Regions from separate parts of the Homo sapiens genome. Here regions 2, 3 and 4 are each linked to region 1. Evidence: promoter capture Hi-C in human tissues and cell types (Jung and others, 2019). All regions are on one chromosome and are shown on one strand. Each heading gives the region's core, a stretch centred on a gene start or on the middle of the fragment in contact. The rest is flanking DNA. Distances are from core to core; before and after follow the strand shown. Region 1 holds the start of ARHGAP17 (Rho GTPase activating protein 17). Region 2 overlaps RBBP6 (RB binding protein 6, ubiquitin ligase). Region 3 has its middle 60 kb from the start of RBBP6. Region 4 overlaps TNRC6A (trinucleotide repeat containing adaptor 6A).

What was found. The method cuts DNA at HindIII sites, captures the fragments that hold promoters and counts their contacts. A contact is called where the count stands out against the background at its distance.
Region 2: a fragment that was not itself captured here is called in contact with the fragment with the promoter of ARHGAP17 in region 1 in 1 of the 25 tissues and cell types used here (mesenchymal stem cells).
Region 3: a fragment that was not itself captured here is called in contact with the fragment with the promoter of ARHGAP17 in region 1 in 1 of the 25 tissues and cell types used here (dorsolateral prefrontal cortex).
Region 4: a fragment that was not itself captured here is called in contact with the fragment with the promoter of ARHGAP17 in region 1 in 2 of the 25 tissues and cell types used here (aorta and dorsolateral prefrontal cortex).

Annotation. Positions count from the first base shown.
Region 1 is chr16:25,013,739-25,017,054 of GRCh38, reverse strand. It overlaps ARHGAP17 (Rho GTPase activating protein 17), which reads left to right and starts at 1,686. Exons shown (of 20, transcript NM_001006634.3): 1 at 1,686-1,846. The coding sequence starts at 1,794. It also overlaps the pseudogene LOC100421171. RefSeq lists silencers at 1,548-1,797, 1,878-1,927, 1,988-2,037, 2,098-2,147 and enhancers at 1,461-2,129, 2,130-2,798. The HindIII fragment of the contact is 28,450 bases long and covers 1-3,316 here.
Region 2 is chr16:24,569,003-24,572,318 of GRCh38, reverse strand. RBBP6 (RB binding protein 6, ubiquitin ligase) reads right to left here. Exons shown (of 18, transcript NM_006910.5): 17 at 1,820-3,316; 18 at 1-1,443. Among named protein-coding and RNA genes, the nearest start is that of RBBP6, 31 kb to the right of the region's middle. The HindIII fragment of the contact is 8,080 bases long and covers 1-3,316 here.
Region 3 is chr16:24,597,735-24,601,050 of GRCh38, reverse strand. No RefSeq gene overlaps it. Among named protein-coding and RNA genes, the nearest start is that of RBBP6, 60 kb to the right of the region's middle. The HindIII fragment of the contact is 3,086 bases long and covers 119-3,204 here.
Region 4 is chr16:24,745,977-24,749,292 of GRCh38, reverse strand. The region is part of intron 2 of TNRC6A (trinucleotide repeat containing adaptor 6A); the gene reads right to left. Among named protein-coding and RNA genes, the nearest start is that of TNRC6A, 18 kb to the right of the region's middle. The HindIII fragment of the contact is 3,228 bases long and covers 111-3,316 here.

The DNA.
Region 1 (3,316 bases), core at 437-2,936:
TTTAGTATGTTGTCCAGGCTAGTCTCATACTCCTGAGCTCAAGTGATCTTCCCATCTTGACCTCCCAAAGTGCTAGGATTACAGGTGTGAGCCACTGCACCTGGCCCCAGAAGATAATTTTTTATTTGTCTTTTACTCTATGTTCAAATTCTTCAATTTTTTGGTAGACTCTACTTTTTCAATTTGTAGAGCTTGCATGAATAGTGTTTTCCTTCTCTTGAAGTTTAGAGAGATCATGTACTGTAATTCCTGAGCCACCTTGCTGTAACAAATTTTCCAGTTCTTCAATCTTTTCTTCCTAATTGCTTAGATTTTCTTGATGCTTACAACTTATTTCCCTCAATTTCTGTTGATGAACATTCTGTAATACTGATAATTCAAGCTGATGGTCATCAGTATCCTGACTTCTTTTTTGTTTGAGCTCCTTGATGATATTAATATTTGGTGTTTGTAGTTTGTAGATTTCATTTTCATCAAAACTAGTTGTTCCTCCTATTTTATAAGTCTGAGCAATACATTTCCAATGGCCAACTGGAGACTCAAGTTTTAGAACTTCATTGGACTATCTGTTTATTTCTTGTTATGATGAAATTATGTCATAAAAACCCATGTAAGCGTCGTGGAACACTGAAGCATGATGGGTACCACATGGAATGGAGGGGATGCAGTGTGGATGGGAACCTCCGGCCTTCCCTGAATGTGCTGACTCCAGGGCTGGCTGCCGGTCCTGCAACCGATCCTGTAGTGCTTGCTTTCTTGTTTTAGGAAGGCTCATTTCTACCTCTTTCTGTTGTAATTGATGTCGATAACTTTTAGTTTGCTGCCCTATCTGAAGCTCTGATGCTTCCTAGGTCTCTCCTAGGTCACTAAAAAGATCTTGAAGTCCCTCATTCTTTGATATTAAGAATTCCAAACTGGCATCAGTCTCCTTTATCCCATAGTTAGGGAGCTCTTTCCTTTTTCTATGACATTTAGGAGCACATTTGAGATGTGGCTGATGAAAGAAGCCACATTGCTGCCCATCCAATGCAAAGAAGGGGCTTACCTGGAGCCAAGGCCACCAAACCAGGAAGACATGAGTGTGTGAGCACGTGTGTTAAGGAAAACACACATTGACTTTAATTTTTTTTTTTTTTTTTTTTTTCGAGACAGGGTCTCTCACTCTGTTGCCCAGGCTGGAGTGCAGTGGCGCCATCTCGGCTCACTGCAACCTCTGCCTTTCGGGTAAAAGCCGTTCTCCTGCTTCAGCCTCCTGAGTAGCTGGGATTACAGGCGTCCACCACCACGCCCAGCTAAATTTGTATTGTTAGTAGAGACAGGATTTCACCGTGTTGGCCAGGCTGCTCTCGAACTCCCGAGCTCAAGTGATCTGCCCCCTCGGCCTCCCAAAGTGCTGAGATTACAACGTTGAACCACTGCGCCCTGCTAGAAACAGCTTTTCATACGTTGAAATAAACGAGAGGGTGACCGGGCAGCGTTGGGGTCGGGGAGGCCAGGCGGAGGAGGCCTAGTGGTCTTCTCGCCCGGGGCCTTCTAGCTCTTCGCCCGTGTCAGGTAAGGCACTGTTAGCCTCGGCTCGGTTCGACTCGGCTCTACTCGGGCTCAGCTCGGCTCGGCCAGACCTAGAGGGCGGGCGGGCGGTGCCACTGGAAGTGACGAGGCGAGGGCGGGGCCGCCGGCCCGGGGAGCCACCGCCGCGCCGCCGTTTGGGCCGGGAAGCGATGTAGTAGCTGCCAGGCTGTCCCCCGCCCTGCCCGGCCCGAGCCCCGCGGGCCGCCGCCGCCACCGCCGCCATGAAGAAGCAGTTCAACCGCATGAAGCAGCTGGCTAACCAGACCGTGGGCAGGCGAGTGCGCCGGGCAGCACGGGGGTCGCACCGGGGCTGGGGGCGGAGGGCGGAGGGCGCGGGGGCGGGACGGCTCCTCCGCGGTCCGGCGGCTCTGAGCTGGGCCGCAGCCCCTGCCCGAGACCAGCGGGGCACGGGCCCGGGGGCTGCGCCGCGCTGAGGCCCGAGCGCCGCGCTCCAGGCGGCCCGCCTGTCTCTCAGCGCCGCCGGGCTCCCGAGACCTGCAGGGGAGGGCCGCCGCCTCCTCCGCCACACCGCGGGGTCCCCTGCCCATTGTCCCTGCCCCGGGAGCATCGCCCTCGGGGAGTAGACCCGGTCCTTCTCCTCCCTTCCCGGGGGCCGAGCCAGCTGGGATCGCTGCCCTGGGCTCAACAACGGTGACTTCTGTCCCTAACGCTGTGCCGAGCGCTGTGCTGTGGGGGGCGGCAGTCCCAGGCTTTCCCGGTGCTCCCGCTGTTTGCGAGTCCTTCTCCTGTAAGTGCATGGCGGCAAGAAATGGCTAGAGGGACATGAAAGCCAGCCGGATTTGCTCAGTGAGTTCAGAACGCCCTTTGAGGGAATTCGGAGGTGGTGCTGTCTCAAAACCAGGGCTCCTAGGAACTGGACTGCTGCTGCCAGTTCTTGACATTTAGAAATTAGGAATTGGCGGAAAAGGATTATGGAGACGCCTTGCGCCAATTTAAAAAGTCTCACCTTAGGTTTGGAAACAAATGCTTCTTTATCTTCCTTTGCTACGGTTGAAGTGCTTAACAAGAAACGTTATTGATTATTAAATGGCAGGCTAGACCAGAGTTGGTAGATCAGGTTGTCAGAACAAGAAATGATTTGTGGTTTTTGAGAGTTTCTGGAGGTGACTGTCATGTGCTGTATTATCTGGGGCTAATATTTCAAGGTCTTTCAGGGCAGCTGGCTGTACTGTACCGATTTAGTGTTTATTCAGCAAAGAGATACGAAAGTATGAATTTCTCACAGCTCTTCTTTTGATTTTCTGTTTTTAACAGTTAAGGGGAGTTTGGTTTGGCTGAAGCACGTGGGACACTTCTTTTTTTTGAGTGTATGAAAATACTTTTACTTCCTCTCGAGTTTTCTAAATTTGCTTTTTACTGTTTCATTTCCTCCATCTTTTTGCTTAGTTTCCTTGTTTAATTTTTTCGATTCCCTACCGTATTATTGTGGTGAGAATTAACTCTTATTTTCAGGGTTAATCGCTGCCCCTAAAGCCCAGACAAACCTACTTTTCTGTTATTTGCAGGAAAATTAAAGAAATAATGCTGAGAGGAAGGTAGACGTGTGGTAATGGCGGCTGATGTTTCAAGGAACAGTTTACAAGCACATGATAATTTCTTGTGAGTTTCGTACCCTTGTTAGTGTTCTGAGCAACGTGCATTGTGGAACTAGTATTTAGTAAGTGCCAAGATACATTTGTCAAATAGTCGTTTGGCTTGTTTTTACATTGTTCGTGACAGGTAA
Region 2 (3,316 bases), core at 480-2,979, 440 kb after region 1:
GCATGTTTCTTATGCTTCTTATGCTTTTTATGTTTCTTGTGTTTTTTCTTTTCCTTCTTTTTCTTCTTCTTCTTGCTGTCCTGACTTTCTGCTGAGCTGGCACTGCTACTGTGGCTTCGGGTCTGGCTTCCAGAAGGACTGTGGCTTCTGCTGGGGCTGACGCTGGGGCTGCTGTGGCTCTGATTCCTGCTTATGCCCACCTGGACAACTGCTGCTGTGTCCAGGCTCTCTTTTGCTTTCTCCACTATTTTATCTTTCAGGTCCTTAGAAATGTTTCCTGAAGATTCCTCTTCTTTTACAGAAACATTACTTTCACTGTCACTTTCATTATAGTCTGGTTCAAAAGCAGCTTCATCAGTTTCTCTAGTTAAGTCAGAGGAAAGTCTAGAGGAATGACTTAACTGGGGTTTAGGCTTGACAGTACTCTTGTCAATTTGCCCAGTAATTTGCTCTTTTTCAACCTGTGTCTCTGGTGGGTTAAGTATATAAAGTAGTTTATTGCCACTTGACTCTTTATTGTTCCTTGCTTCTAATACATGCTTCTCACGATCCTTACAAGGATTTTTATCTACAGATTTTGTCTCTTCATTTGGCCGTTTAGTATCATAAGTGGCTTTGTGATCATGAGGTTTTCTGTCTCTTGAGGGACTAGAATTACTTTTTTTGGAATCTCCTGTTCCTTTTTTAGGCAAATCTCTCTCTTCCCTTGGTTTATTTTTCTGTCCAGATGCAGAATCTTTATTCCGAGAAGGAGAGTCTTTTCGTCTTGTTAATTCATTCTTTTCATCTCTACGTTTGGAACTTGAATACTCTCTGGTGTCATAGTCAGTTTTTTTGTCTCTATTGGGAGTGAAGTCTTTATTTGAGGAAGCACGAGTGGAATCATGTTTATCTGACGTTCTAGCCTCTTTGGAAGATTGAGACAGACTTTTAAAATTTCCTTGTTCATTCAGACGGTCCAAATTACTCTCTTTCTCTGGCTGAGTGCTGTTCTTCCTCTTTTCAGGGTTCTCCTTTTCCAACACTGAATAATCTCGATCTTTGGTTTTCCCTTTTTCACTAGATGCAGAGTTTTTTGAACTTTTAACCTCATGTTGTATGATTTCATGGCTCACGTCCTTGGTGAATTTCTGAATTTTCTCGGATGGCTCACTTTCTTTCTCAGGATACTTGACTATATTTGATGGCTTTGTACTAACATTTTTTATAACACTAGCAGGTTTTCCTACACTTGATATAGGCTGTGTGGATTTAACATCTTCTTCTTCAGATTCAAAGTCATCTTTATCCCATTTGGATTGAGGAACCTGAATCATAATGATAACATCTTCAGCTGGCGCGGTATTGTCATTATTATATTCTTCCATCGTTTTAATCACAGTTCGCTTTGTATCTGTTTTTTCTTCAGATTTCCGCACAGGACTGCCTCCAGTTGAGCTCGTACTAAAAAGAATAACAAAATATTTTTAATTAATGAAGAATTTACTATTAATTATAAAACACTGATAAATATAAAAATGCTAACTTAAACACAAATGTCCTTTTAACATTAAAAAAAACAAAAAACTTATTCTGCCCTAAGGAAGACACACAATTTAAGATTATGATTGTATCAACACAAATGTGGCTCACCCCCAAAATCTATTTACAACCTTGTCTTTGGCAATTCCCTTCTTCAAAGACAACAAAAGACTACATAAAACCAGCCTACTTCCCTAGATCAGCATTCATAATTAATATAAAAAGCACAAGCATGGATAAAACTGAAGAAAATCCTTCTCCCAACAAAGTTCCACACCCACCCCCTACACTCAGCTACCTGGTGTAATCCACCAGAGTTGAGCTGGATCCTTCAGTTCCAGTCACTTTTCGTCTGACCTTTCCTTTGACTTTTTCTTGTTTAACTTTGCTAGATGTTGACTCCAATTTTTCAGAGGGTTCTTTTGTGTTTGATATATTTTCTGTACTTCCAATTTTCTTCCCAGTTTCTCTGTTGAGTTTGATTTTTTTGGCTGGCGCACTTAAAGAAATTTTGTCCTTTTCAGGGGTCCTATCCATTTTTTCAGTATCAGGTTCCATTTTGCGCTTTGGTGATGGTTTCACTATTTCAGTCACTTCTAGTTTCGAGATTTTCATTGAAGAAGACTCAAAATCTTTATCTACGCCTTTTTCTTCAGTTTTTCTTTTTCTTTTTTCTCCCTTATTATCAAGTGGTTTGTTTTTCTCATTAGGCTTCTTGGCCTTTTCTTCCTTAGTTGTTAGCTTTTCTGATTTGACATCTTTGGAATAGTCCTTCTTCACTTTTTCCTCTTTGACTGGTTTTGTTTCTTGGTGTTCTTTTGCTGATTTAGAGTGAGCTTTTCTGGGGGTTCCAGTGATTTTTTCATCCTTCTGAGAGGAAGATGATGATTTAGTATTGTCAGTCTTCGGAGTCTCCTCTTTGGCTTTTTTAATTGGAGGTTCAGATCGAGGAGATCTCTCACGTTCTCCATCTACTTTTTCTTGGGGTCCTTTAGCAGGTTTTACAATATTTTCTTTTTTGGACACAGCAGATCCATCATTCTTCCGTTTGGTTTTATCACCCTTTGCTTTTGGTTTATCCCTTTCTCTCTTGTCTTTTTCAGACACTGATTTAAAAGTGATTGATTCTGCATCCATTGGTTCATCTCTAACAGGTGTGGCATCATCTCTACTTGGGAGAACAAACAATGAGTCTGTTTTATTTTCTTCAACACCTGTAGGTTCTCTTGATTTCCTAGAAGTCTCTAATAACTCTGGGTTCAGAAAACCCTCACTTTCCTCCCCTTTTCTTCTTTTTCTGTGTTTCTTATGCTTATTTCCTTTACCATCTCCTGGAGCGTTTTCACTCTCCTTCTCTTTTGACTTTGTATTATCCTTCTGATTGTGACCATCTCTTGCTGAAAGCTTTTCTGGATAGTTGCTACCTATGTTTCGACTTCTATGACTTTGCCCACCAACATAGTCTTCTCTGCGGCCTCTTGTGAAGGGAGAATTCCTGATGTTAAGTGGCAAAAATCTCTCTGGAGAAAAGTTCTCTCTATTTGCTGAGGGTCTAGGCTGTGCTCCAGCAGCATAACCTTTATAATATTTTTCATACCACTCTCTATATTTTCTCTCCCATTCTCGGTAGCGTTCTTTTTCAAATGGGTCTCTAAAGTCAACACTTCTCCCATAATATGCTTTCATGTCATATGGTGGTGGAACTTCTCTGTATCTATTAAAATATTCACGTTCTGTTTCCCCTTGAGGTACATTACGTTTATTAGGAGACTGTCCCCTAAACGCTTGAGGAGAT
Region 3 (3,316 bases), core at 412-2,911, 420 kb after region 1:
TGCTTGAATGTAGACGGTGATAGGTTAAAGGTGTATACTCTAAACCCTAAAGCAACCACTAAAATAATGCAATCAAGAGCGACAGCTAGTAAGCCAATAAAAAATGAAATGGCATAATAAAAATATTCACTTTACCCAAAAGAAAGCAGAAAAAAAGAAAAAAGTGGAACAAATAACAGATCATTTAAACCCTTTCATATTAATAATCACATTAAATGTAAATGGCTTGAACACCCCACTCAAAAACAGAGTTTGTCAGATAGAATGAAAACGCAACAATCAACTATATGCTACAAGAAACCCACTTTAAATATAAAACATATTCATCAAATAAGAAAGCTTTGAAATACAGGAAGCAGAATTGATTGAACAGCAAGGAGAAACAGACAAATCTACTATTATAAGCAGATATTTCAACATCCCTCTTTTGATAATTAATAGAACAACTAGACAGAAAATAAGCAAGGATACAGACGACTTGAACAACACTTGAACAAATTTGACCTAATTGAGATTTATGGAACGCTTCATACAACTGCAGAATATATATTCTTTTCAAGTGCACATAGAACATTTACCAGAATAAACCATAGTCTCAGTCATAAATAAATCTCAATAAATTTAAGAAAATTAAAATTATATCAAGCACTCAGACCACAGTGGATCTGAAACTGGAAATCAACTTTAAAAGGAATCTTCAACACCGTGCAATTACATGGAAATTAAATAACCTGCTCCTGAATGAGCATTGGGTCACAATGAAATCAAGATGGAAATTTAAAAATTCTTCAAACTGAATGATAATAGTGACACAACATATCAACACCTGCGGGATACAGCAAAAGCAGTGCTAAGAGGAAAGTTCATAGCCCTAAATGCCTACATCAAAAAAGTCTGAAAGAGCACAAATAGACAATCTAAGGTCACACCTCAAGGAACTAGAGAAACAAGAACAAACCAAACCCAAACCTAGCAGAAGAAAGGAAATAACCAAGATCAGAGCAGAACTAAATGAAATTGAAACAAACAAACAAAAAATACAAAAGATAAATGAAACAAAAAGTGGTTTCTTTGAAAAGATAAATAAAATTGATAGACCATTAGCAAGATTAACCAAGAAAAGAAGGGAGAAAATCCAAATAAGCTCAATTAGAAATGAAACGGGAGATATTACAACAGACACCACAGAAATACAAAAGATCATTCAAGGCTACTATGAACACCTTTGCACGCACAAACTAGAAAACCTAGAGGAGATGGATAAATTCCTGGAAACATACAACCCTCCTAGATTAAATCGGGGAGAATGAGAATAAATCCAAATAAACTTAAATGGATTCAAACCATACAGAGTATCTTTTCTGACCAAAATGGTGTTAAATTAGACATCAATAACAGAAAGATAACTGAAAAATCCACAAATATTTGGAAACTAAATAATACACTTCTAAATAACCCATGGGTCAAAGGAGAAATTAAAAGGGACATTAGAATTTTTAACCGAAAGAAAATAAAAACACAAACATATAAAAATTTGTTGGATGAAGCTAAAACAGTATTTAAATGGAAATTTATAATTTTAAATACCTTCTTAGAAAAGAAAAATCACAATAACATCAGCTATTACCTTAAGAAACTAAAAAGAGAGCAAAATCACAAAGAAAACAAAGAGAATAAAGGAAATTATAAAAACCAGAATAGAAATGAATGAAATGGAAAACTGAAAAATGCAGAAATATCAGAAGCTAATATTAGAAGCTTTCAGATCAATAAAATTCACAAACCTCTAGCCATATTGATCAGGAAAAAAAGAGAAAACACAAATTACCAATATCAGAGGCCAAGTGCAGTGGCTCCTGCCTGTAATCCCAGCACTCTGGGAGGCCGAGGCGGGTGAAACACCTGAGGCCAGCAGTTTGAGATCAACCTGGGCAACATGGTGAAACCCCGTCTCTACTAAAAATAGAAAAATTAGCCAGGCATGGTGGCAGGCACCTGTAATACCAGCTACTCAGGAGGCTTAGGCAAGAGAATTGCTTGAACCTGGGAGTTGGAGGTTGCAGTGAGCTGAGATCACGGGGCGACAGAGCGAGACTCCATCTCAAACAAACAAACAAACGAATGAACAAATTACCAATATCAGAATGAGAGAGATAACATTATTCCAGATTCTATAGACATTAAAAAGGATAACCAGAGAATATTATGAACAAGTTTATGCCAGTAAATTTGACAACTTAGATGAAATAGATACATTCCTGGAAAGACGCAAATACTAAACATCACTCAAGAAAAGATAACCTGGAAAGTATATATTTCTCTTAAAGAACTTGAAATCATAGCTTAGATCTTTTCAACAAAGAAAACTGGAGAGCCAGATGACTTCACTCAGGAATTCTATCAAATCATTAAGGAAAAATTAATTTTAATTCAACACAAGCTCTTCTAGAAAATTGAAGAGGAAGGAATTTTTCTCAGCTGATTCTGTGAGGCCAGCGTTACTCTGATACCAAGTCCAGACAAAGACAGCACAAAGAACGTAACCACAGAGTAACATCCCTCTTGAACTTAGATGAATAAATTCTTAACAAAATTGTAGCAAATCAAATTTAACAGTGAATGAGGAGGCTGATGCGCAATGGCCAAGCGGAATTTGCCCAGCAAATAGGGTTGGTTTAATGTTCAATTAATGTAATACACATAATAATAAACTAGTAAAGAAAAACCACATAAATATCTCAATAGATGCTGAAAAAAATTGGCAAAATCAAATGTTCATTTCTGATAATAACTCTTAACAAACTGGGAATAGAAGGGAACTTCATCAACCTGATAAAGGGCATTTATAAAAAAAATATACAGCTAACATCATATTTAATGGTAAAAGACTGAAAGCTCTCCCCCTAAGATCAGGAACAAGACAAGGATGTCTGCTCTCACCAATACTATTCAACATTGTACTGTAGGTTCTAGCCAGGGCCATTAGGTAAGGGGAAAAAAAGCAAATAAAAGGCATTCAGTTTAGAAAGAAAGAAGCAAGATTGTCTTTGCAGGTGACATGATCATTTATGTAGAAAATCCTATGAAAGAGTTAATATGTGAGTTTAGTGAGGTTTCAGGATATAACCCCAGTTTCCAAATTCTACTGTATTTCTCTCTGCTAGCAACAGTCAGAAATAAAAATCTTAAGAAATACCCTTTACAATAGCGTGAAAAACTTGAGGATAAATCTGACAAAAAAATGTGTCAGCCGTGTACACTGAAAACTACAAAACATCATTGAGAGAAATGAAAGAATACCTAAGTAAATGGAAAG
Region 4 (3,316 bases), core at 475-2,974, 270 kb after region 1:
CAATCAACACCCTTCACACAGATCAGCCTTCCCATTCAGGGAAGGAGTCTACTGGGCAAAAAAAACCTTTGCAAAGGCGGAAGAAACTCACTCCGGCTACCTGTAGTCATCACCCTAAAGTCTAGACCCTAAACCTTCATTCATAATACCAACAACCAAAATAACCAGTTACCCAAAGAAAAGCATCACACAAAATGAAAATACCTAACTCTGCCCTGAGGAAGCTTTCCAGAGGGGACACTAAGAATATCAGGCAGGGGCGTGGTGGCGGGCACCTGTAGTCCCAGCTACTCGGGAGGCTGAGGCAGGAGAATGGCGTGAAACTGGGAGGTGGAGCTTGCAGTGAGCTGAGATGGCACCACTGCATTCCAGCCTGGGCGACAGAGCAAGACTCTGTTTCAAAAAAAAGGAATATCAGGCAGAAAAAGAGAGATTTGGAGATATGAACTAGACATTTTGGAAGCTGCACATTATTTATCAAGGCTGGAATGCATATGGCAGTAGGGATGTTGAAGAAGATAAAAGGAGAAAGACAAGTGCCTAAGAAACTGGAAGGGGTTGTTGCTATAGGTGCGCTGCAATGAGATTAAACAAAATTTAAGTTGGCTTTGCTGATGGAACAGACTGAGAGGAGATGCAGACACCGAAAAATGAAATGAATGACATTATGCACAATTGATAAAAACTTAGTAAAGTATAGGACTACTAAAATCAGCTAAAAGGATAACTGGAAGAAGAGTATGATAACTGTTGCTATACTTCGCTGTCATTTTGTTACAAGCAGAAGTGTCATGTGGCTAATGGAGTAACATAACAGATTCCTGCCAACTGTGGCCATGACTCACTCTCTTTTGAATTCTGTGTGCAGGAGGTAGTAAGACTGAACAAGCTCACTCACACTACAATCCCAGGGAAGTCAAGGAGCAAGAAAGCCACAGCATATGAGAGCAGCAGAGTAAAATCAGTAAACAACGGCAACTAGGTTACACCACTGTCATGTTACCTACCCTGAGACATGCAGAAGTCAAGATTAAAAGCTGATTACTAGTTAAAAATACTTAATCTTCTTCAGCCTCTGTTTCTTCATGAAAAAACTGGGGGCAAATGACCATACATGTCAATGTCTTAATATTTTTATAAGAATTAGGACTGCTTACTTAGCACAAAGCTTATCTAGTAAGCACTCAATTGCCTAGCCATGAATCCAACTCACCAGTCCTCAGTGGCACCCAAAAGGCTGTCTTTACCCTTCTTGTGTCAAAATAGCACAGGTACTTATTCAGAAACATCTAGCACCTTCAGCATTTGTTCTTCATGTTCTGCTGTGAATTACAGACATGTCCTTTTCTGATCTTCTATGTCACTATAATTTTACTCCATGTAATGGTCTCTATCTGGAGTATTTTCTCCTTTCTCAAACTTCATTTTCAAGACTTTCTGATGAGGTTACTAGCAAGTGTTTTCCTGGCCAAAAATATCCCCTTTAGTACTTAAAAGATGTACCAGACATTTCTTCTCAAGGAAATATCACAGTATCAGCCGATACTGTAAGCACAGAGGGGAGTAAGTTTTGTTCTTCAACACTATCATCACAGCCAACCAGTCATGCTTTTTCCCATATCTCCTCCTTCAGAGAAAGCCAACTGGAAAAACAACAACAACACCTGTGCCCAAACACGTCAGCTTCCAGGAGTTAAATGTTCATAGAGACTCACTTAAGACATCTGACTATATCATTTACCACAACTATCAAGAGGAGCAAGGACTGATGGATTTGAAAGGCCTAAGTGGGCCACCCTGTTTGATGCACCTGCCACCAAGACAACACTCCAGTTAGCAATCATCCATGCCCTGAAGGCTACTTTGCAGGATACCTCACATCTGTAAGTTCTATGAATCTACCTCGTTGTCTGTAAAAACCAGACTCCCCTTTTATCAGAACTTGACTTATGTCCTGCATCTCATGTATAAAGGCTTTGAGGTGGCCTGTAAAAGTCAATGCCACTGAGGGAACTTTCTAGGAAAATGGAAATGTTTTCTAACTTGATTGGAGTGATAATTACAAGGGTGTATACATTTGTCAAATCATTCACCTACACACTCAATGTTTGAATTTTACTGTATGTAAATTGTATTTTAAAGTTGGTTTCATACATTGACTAGGGGAAATGCAATATCTCGATCTGAAAAAACAAATAGATCAAGATTAGGATTCCACACAACAAATCAAGCTAAGCTTCAAATTTTGCCCGTATCTTCCAGTAGCCACTACAAATGATTTACTTGTACCGTTCAAGAATGCGTTTCTGGCCGGGTATGGTGGCTCAGGCCTGTAATCCCAGGAGTCTGGGAGGCCAGGAGTTTGAGAACAGAATGGGCAACATAGTGAGAGTCTGTCTCTATTTCAAGGGCCTATCAAGGGAGCAGGGTACACCTTGGAGGTAGAATGCCCCTTCCTACTCTTGCGCCTCCTGACACTTGATGGTCAATTTTTCCTACATTCCCAGCCCTGAATATCATTAAAATTAATCCCTTCTGAAGGGTACTCTTGTACTTGCTATCAGAAGTATGTATGGACTAGCACTAAGCTTCTGGTGAGCAATTTGGAAGTATCTATTCACAATGAATTTTTAAATGTCACTATCTTATGATCCATCAATTCAAATCTAAGCCTCTGAAAAAGGAACCGTACAAAGATAGACACCGCAGCATAAAATCATAACCAAAAACCAATCAATAGGGAAAAGTTAAATCATCCTGTAATCACACCAAGGAATACTACACAGTAATTTTAAAGTGGGGCGGGGAGTAGATTTCCATAGTGTACAGAACCAGCTCCCAATAGAAACCTCAAGCACTAAACTTCTTATTTATTTATTTAGAGACGAAGTCTCACTCAGTTGCCCCGAGCTGGAATGAGGTGGTGCTGGTGTCAAACTCCTGGGCTCAAGCAATCCTCCTACCTCGGCCTACCAAAGTACTGGGATTACAGGGGTGAGCCACTGCACTCAGCTAGGAAACATGATTTTTTTTATAGGAAAAAAATTCCTACAATTTTGTAGAAACAACTGAACACATCTGAAATAAGAAAACAAGCAAACATTTGGTACAGGTTGTAAACAAGATTAGTGAAGTAAGACAGGTATAAGAGCTGTTTCAACTGTGGAAGGCTTTATGGAGCAGTAAGAAGTTGATCTGGCTCTTGCAAAAGAGGCAAGATTTTTTAGGAGCACAGAAAGGTGTGGGCACAAGCGAAGTATGGAGACTTGTCAGCATGACAATTGCAGGGACCAGCACTGACTGGAATTGAAAAAGG